Linked DNA regions of Homo sapiens: region 1 is linked to region 2. Evidence: promoter capture Hi-C in 16 types of primary human blood cells and fetal thymus (Javierre and others, 2016). All regions are on one chromosome and are shown on one strand. The core of a region is centred on a gene start or on the middle of the fragment in contact, and the rest is flanking DNA. Distances in the headings are between cores, read along the strand shown.

The links. Contacts are between HindIII fragments. The CHiCAGO score rates a contact against its expected background, and 5 or more counts as called.
Region 1: a contact is called between the fragment with the promoter of DHX34 here and the fragment with the promoter of BICRA-AS2 in region 2, in 5 of 17 cell types (total B cells, erythroblasts, fetal thymus and 2 more). The highest score is 7.1, in total B cells.

What each region holds. Positions count from the first base shown.
Region 1 is chr19:47,348,005-47,351,486 of GRCh38, reverse strand. DHX34 (DExH-box helicase 34) reads right to left here and starts at 2,172. Exons shown (of 17, transcript NM_014681.6): 1 at 2,135-2,172. RefSeq lists an enhancer at 1,428-2,332. The HindIII fragment of the contact is 2,372 bases long and covers 1,901-3,482 here.
Region 2 is chr19:47,607,023-47,610,525 of GRCh38, reverse strand. It overlaps BICRA-AS2 (BICRA antisense RNA 2), which reads left to right and starts at 1,897. Exons shown (of 1, transcript NR_186352.1): 1 at 1,897-2,653. It overlaps BICRA (BRD4 interacting chromatin remodeling complex associated protein), which reads right to left and starts at 1,392. Exons shown (of 15, transcript NM_001394372.1): 1 at 1,358-1,392. RefSeq lists silencers at 1,208-1,277, 1,348-1,397, 1,458-1,507, 1,618-1,997, 2,058-2,137 and 4 more. The HindIII fragment of the contact is 11,162 bases long and covers 1-3,503 here.

The DNA of each region.
Region 1 (3,482 bases), core at 923-3,422, 260 kb after region 2:
GGTCTTGAAGCTTAGTTCCCTTCAACCCCCCACTTCTCAGCTACACCAGAAAATGCCTTTTTGCTTACAGTTGGAGTCTTTTTTGTTTTGAGATGGAGTCTTGCTCTGTCACCCAGGCTGGAGAAAAAAAATTAGCCAGGTGTGGTGGCGGGCACCTGGCTACTCGGGTAGTCCCAGCGACTCGGGAGGCTGAGGCAGGAGAATCACTCGAACCCTGGAGGCAGAGCTTGCAGGAAGCCAAGACTGAGCCACTGCACTCCAGCCTGGGCAACAGAGCGAGACTCTGTCTCAAAAAAAAAAAAAAAAAAAAAAAAAGAAAAAGAAAATGAGAGCATTCTTCTGAGGCTAGAAACTGCTTATGCATGCTGGGCCCCACTGACAGCATCCCGCTCCTCTCAAGGTATCTATCTTTTTTGGCTTCTAGATTGTCTGCATCTTCTAGTTTCTGTATAACTGTGTCTCTGACCATCTTTTGGTCTCTTGGCCTATTTGCCCTGGGCTCATGGCCTTCAGTGGGTTTGTTTCCCCCTCTGTCCCCTCCATCTCTCTCCACTCCATCTTCAGGCCTCTGTCTCTTTTTCAGTCCGTCTTGTTCATCATCACCCTCATCTCTCTTCCCTGTCCTAGTCAGCTCGCATCTCTCTTCACTTATGAGTCATTCTGTAGTCTGATTTTTCTCTGTAATCCAACTCTTCCTTTCTCCATCTCTCTTCAGTTCTCCATTTGACTTTCTCCATCTTTCTCATTAAAAAAAAAATGCTTTTTCAGGCCGGGCATGGTGGCTCACGCCTATAATCCCAGCACTTTGGGAGGCTGAGGCAGGCAGATCACCTGAGGTCGGGAGTGCGAGACCAGCCTGACGAACATGGAAAAATCCCGTCTCTACTAAAAATACAAAATTAGCCAGGGTGGTGGCACCTGCCTGTAATCCCAGCTACTCTGGAGGCTGAGGCAGGAGACTCGCTTGAACCCAGGAGGCAGAGGTTGCAGTGAGCCAAGATCGCACCACTGCACTCCAGCCTGGGCAACAAGAGCGAAACTCCATCTCAAAAAAAAAAAAAAAAAATTCATTTTTGTTTTTTTGAAACAGGGTCTCACTCTGTCACCCAGCCTGAAGTGCAGTGGCACAATCACGGCGTACAGCAGCCTCGACCTCCCAAGCTCAAGTGATCCTCCCACCGCAGCCTCCCAAAGTGCTGTGGATGACAGGAGTGAGTCACCACGCCCTTTCTCATTTTCTGTTTGAATCTTTTTTTCCTCCCTTTTGTCCTTCCAGTATTCACTCTCCATCACCACCTCTCTCCATTTCCCCATCTAATACTTTATCTCCCAATATCAGAAGCTTTAGTAATAGCTCATGCTTACTTACTCACATTAACACACAGACCTATCCTATCTGCATGATCTATTCCTATCCCACACCTATGTACATACACACACACACTTTTCTCACGACTGTCAGGCACTATGATCACCCCCTATTTTACTGAGCAATAGAGAGGCTAAGTGAGTAGCCGAGTGTTACATGAGCCACTCAAATCCAGGGGTTCGGGCTCCACTCCCTCGCTTTTCCATTTCTCAGCATCGTTCTCCATTATCTCCAGCTTTTGTGGGGTTCTTCCTATTTCAACTGTCTCCATCCTTCCGTATCTCTCGGTCTCCCCCGTGATTCAGTGTCTCGTTTCTCCATCTAAATTCCATTTTTTCTGTTTCTAGTGTCCACGATCAGTTTCCGACTTTTCCCTCCACTCCCCAAGTTCATGGGCGACCACGCCTCTCGGCCTCGTGGGCTCTAAGACTCTCGCTGGAACCCATCGGCACTCTCGCCCACGCTCTCTAGTTTTCAGCTTCCCTCCTCTCCCAACACCCTCGTCTTTCAGTCCCTCAGTTTCTCGAAGCTTCTTTTCGTGCCTCCATTTCTTTCGGTCTCTGGCCTGTCGCCCAGGTTCTCCCAGGGACGCTCAGGTGCCATCTCTGTCCGCGTTTGCCGGCCCTTCGGCTGCCTCCTACATTTCTCCTCATCTCGAGACTTCCCTCGCCCCTGGACTCGCACCCCAAACTACCCCCAAGCGGCCCAACTCCGACAGCCATCGCCGCCACAACCCGGTACACCCGTCCCGCCCCCCTCACTTACCACACGCCGCGAACGCCTTAACTTCCGGTCCCAAGAGCGCTAGTCTTGCGCCTGCGCACACAGCCATCTCGTTCTGACCCCGCCCCGCCACCACAGAAGAGCCAATCGGAAGCTCTGGGCTGCCCAAGACCCATCTTGCGCCTGTGCACAGCACGCTTCCGCCCCGCCTCGCTTGGGGCGGAGCCTCGAGTGATTGCGCCCTCTAGAGGCCAGTAGAGGCATTGCGGTACAGACTTGCAAGCGCCTCCTCCCCGGCCCCGCCCTCTCCTCCCCAAGCATAGCCACGTGCGCCTCAGCTCCGGGACGCCGGGGTTTTAACCCAAAGAGAGAGCTGGTCTGGGGCCCAGGAACTTTTTTTTTTCTTTTGAGACATAGTCTCACTGTCTCCCAGGCTAGAGTGCAGTGGCGTTATCTCACCTCATTGCAATCTCCGCCTCCCAAGTTCAAACCATTCTCCTGCCTCAGCCTCTCGAGTAGCTGGGATTACAGGCGCACACCACTACACCTGGCTGATTTTTGTATTTTTAGTAGAGACGAGGTTTCACGATTTGGGCCAGGCTGGTCTCCAGCTCCTGATCTCAAGTGATCCGCCCGCCTTGGCCTCCCAAAGCACTGAGATTACAGATGTGGGGCATCTCACTCAGCCTCTACCTCTTTTCTTTCTACAACCCCATTTTCTGTTACCTTTCTCTGCAATAAACTCAATCACACACATTCAGGAAGACCCCCAAGTATAGAAACAATCTCATTAGCCAGCAATGCACCCTCTCTTTTATTAACTGAAAGAAGAAACAGCTGGGCACGGCGGCTCACGCCTGTAATCCCAACAGTTTGAGAGGCCGGGGTAGGTGGATCACCTGAGGTCAGGCGTTCCACACCAGCCTGGGCAATATGGCCAACCCCTGTTTCTACAAAAAAATACAAAAGTTAGTCGGATATGGTAGTGTGTGCCTGTAGTCCCAGCTACTCAAGAGGCTGAGGTGGGAGGATCGATTGAACCTAGGAGGCTGAGAGACTGAGGCTGCAGTGAGCCATGATGGTACCACCGCACTCCAGCCTGGGTGACAGAGCCAGACTGTCTCAAAAAAAGAAAAAAGTGTTGTTGTTTTTTTTTTCTGAGACGGAGTCTCGCTGTCGCCCAGGTTGGAGTGCGGTGGCGCGATCTCGGCCCACTGCAGGCTCCGCCTCCCAGGTTCCCGCCATTCTCCTGCCTGAGCCTCCCGCATAGCTGGGACTACAGGCGCCCGCCACCACGCCCGGCTAATTTTTTGTATTTTTAGTAGAGACGGGGTTTCACTGTGTTAGCCAGGATGGTCTCGATCTCCTGACCTCGTGATCCGCCCACCTC
Region 2 (3,503 bases), core at 648-3,147:
TGTCACCTGGGCCTCCCCGGGAGAGCTGACACCGCGGCCTCTGACCCCACCTCCCGGGAAGTTCAGCTGCTCAGAACCACAAAGCAAAACAAAGGGGCGCGGAGAGGAAGAAGCCGCAGTGCCTCCCAATCACCGCCGGCGCCCGAGCCCGAGCCTAGCTCTCCCGCGGCTCCTTGCCCGGTCCTCCCGGCTGGCCGCGCACCAAGGCCCAAGCAGCCCCTGGTCCCTCGTCTCCCCGCGGCCGCCCGTGACAGGAGTCGGGGAAGCAGACGAGGGGCAGCCAGGGATGGGAAAACCAGATGGCTCCATCCCTCCTCCCTCCTCCTCCATCCCTCCCTCCGGGTGCCCGCGGCCTGGCTGCCCTCCGCAGGGGCCCGGGGAGGCCGCAGGCCCAGCTCGTCCGGGCTCACCCCGGGGAAAGGGCTGCCTTTGTCTAAAGGTCACCACCCGAGCGCGGTGCCCCGGCCGGGCCTGGTGCCTCCCGTTCCCAGGCCGAGGGGTAGGAGATGGGGGGCCGCCCCGAACCTCGGGAAGTGACAGGAGGCGCTCACCCCCCCCACCCCCGTAACGGCCCCCTCCGGGATGAGCCTCAGCTGGGGGTGGGGGAGGGGGTCACCTCCCTCTATTGCCGGGGGCTGGGGGTCAAGTCAACTCCTTTCATTGTTTAGGGGCGGTGCGAAGGGGGGAGCCCCGGTGGCCTCCTTCCCCATCCATCCCTCCCCAGCTTTCCAGGGCCCCCCACTGTCCGCGACACCCACGGGAGGGATTTGGGGAGGGGGCGCAGGGGCCGAGCGAGGCGGGGAGATGCAGGCTCTCCGCCTCCGGCCGGGAGATCACCGCCCGCTGCCCGGTGGCCTTCGCCTTCCCCGAAAGGCGGGGAGCGGGGCGAGGGGAGGGGGCCGGGACGGGGAGGGGGTCTCCGCGCCCCTCCCCCCGTGGAACGTTAGGTCTCCTCTCTCCGCCGCTCCATTGTATCCCCGGCAGCCGGCGGGAGGGCCGGGGAGGCACTGGGCGCCGGGTCTGGGCAGGGAAGCCGGTTGGGGGGGGGTCCCCATAGGATCGGGGCGGCGGCGGTGGTGGAAGAGACGCGGGGCTGGGGGTGCCGGTGGCGGTGGGCGCCGAGCAGGAAAAAAAAAAAAAAAAAAAAAAGGAGGCAGCGGGCGCTGCGCCCCGGCTGGGGGGCTGAGTGTGAGAGTGTCGCGGGGGTGGGTTCGGCCCCGGCTCCGGCTCCCCCCACACACACCCTCGCCGCCAACCCCCACTCCCCCCTCGCTTTTGCGCCCTGTCACAGCCCCGACTCGCAGGTAGAGAGAGTTAAGAGATTTAAAGAGAAATTGCTACATTGTGAGAAACTCACCCTGATGTTTGAGCAGCCGTCGGCGCGGGGTCTCCGAGACGGCCCCGCACGGGCTGCAAAGGGAGGACCCAGAAGGGGCCGGCCGGCCGGGCCGGTCAGCGCACTGCCTGATCGCATGGCGGCCGCTCGGCAGCCGCTGCCGGGCCCCCGCCGCCGCCCCGCGCCCAGGCCCGCGCGCCCCGGGCCCGCGCCCGTTCCGGGGAGCGCCCCTCGGGTATGCAAAAAAAAAAAAAATTTTTTTTAATTAAATGCAAACGGAAAAAAAAAAAAAAAAACCTCTCAGGTTTTGTGTTCCGCCCCCCACCCCCTTCCTCCTCCTCCTCCTCCTCCTCTTCCCTCCGCCCTCGCCGGAGGAGGGGCTTCAGGAATCCCCGCCCCGCGTCCGGGCGGACCAGCCCCGGCCCCGCCAGGCCGAGCGGCGGGACCCGGAGCCAATGGGAGGCTGCGGACGTCCGGGGACTGGGCCCTCCGCGCCGGCGCCGCCCCCGCCCCCAGCCCCAGTCCCGGGGGTTCAGGGGCGCGCCTGCTCGAGCTCGGGTGTAGTTTGTCGACTGCCTCGAGCCCTGATCCGGATGCTGGGGCGCGGGGGAGCTGAAGGGATCCGCGCTCCCAGACCGCCGGTCCGGCTGGGGAGGGGGCGCCGTGCGTCCTGGGCGCGTCCCCTGAGGCGGAGGACGGTCGTCCGGCGGGAGGACGCGTCCAGGGGGAGCGCCGCAGGTCCGAAAAGATAGCGGGAGTCGAGGATGAAGGAAATGGAGGGGATGGAGGGGAGTTCCCCCCGGAGGTGGGACCGCGCCGGAGCCCAGAGTTGGAGCCTGACAGGGTGGAAGGCGGCGGGGACTTCGGGGTGACAGGCCGGGACCCCAGGCGTGGCTCGATCACTCACCCTAGCTGGTCTCCGTCGAGCCACGGCGGCGCCGGGGAGGCGGGTCGGGCCTGCCTCGGAGCCTGTCCCCGGCCGCTCTGGCCGCGCTGATGGGATTCCCAGAAGCCCCAGGACGCCGCGGTGGTGTCGGGTCCGTTTCCGCCCCACCAGGCCGTAAACGCCCTGCTGGCGGGACACGGATTCACGCGTTGCCCTTAGCGAGCGCTTGGTGAGCGCCCACTGTGTGCGCTGCGCAGTGCTGGGGGCCCAGTGGGGACACAGAGCCCCCGGACCTGCCCTCCCGATGCTTGCAGCCCAGGGAGATTTATACTTTGTTTTAGTCCCTTCTGCCTCCCCAGTGCCCTAGAAAAGCTCGTGCACACAGTAGGTGAATGCGGGTTGAATAAATGAGTAATCGAGACAGATTGTGATTTTGTTGTTGTTGTGTTATATTTTGTTTTGTTTTGAGACGGAGTTTCGCTCTTTCGCCCAGGCTGGAGTGCAGTGGCACGATCTAGGCTCACCGCAACCTCCGTCCCCTGGGTTCAAGCTATTCTCGGCCTCCCAAAGTGCCCGGCCTCTGTTTTTTTAAGCCTTAACATGTGTTCTAGTATCTTGGCGGTACTACCCATAATATTTACTTCAACGTATTTTTTTTTTTTATAATTTATCGGCCAGGCGCAGTGGCTCACACCTGTAATCCCAACACTTTGGGAGGCCGAGGAGGGTAGATCACCTGAGGTCAGGAGTTCGAGACCAGCCTGGCCAACATGGTGAAACCCCTTCTCTACTAATAATACAAAACTTAGCTGGGTGTGGTGGTGCACGCCTGTAATCCCAGCTGCTTGGGAGGCTGAGGCAGGAGAATCGCTTGAATCCGGAAGGCAGAGGTTGCAGTGAGCCGAGATCACACCATTGCACTCCAGCCTGGGCGACAAGAGGGAAACTCTGTCTCAAAAATAGTAATAATAATAATAATTTATCCAGCCTGGGCAACATAGCGAGACCCTGTCCAAACAAAAATTAGCCCAGCATGGTGGTGTGTGCTTGTACTCCCAGCTACTTGGGAGGCTGAGGCAGGAGGATCGCTTGAGTCCAGGAAGTCGAGGTTGTAGTTCCCCATAGTCATGCCACTGCACTCCAGTCTGGGAGACAGCAAGACCCTGTCTCAAAAAAAAAAAGAAGAAGAAGAAATTAATTTTGAGAGACCACAGAGGGTAAGGGCCCTGACTGAAACCAGTCAGCCCCTGGTTCATATCCTGCCTTTGCCACTTTCTTGCT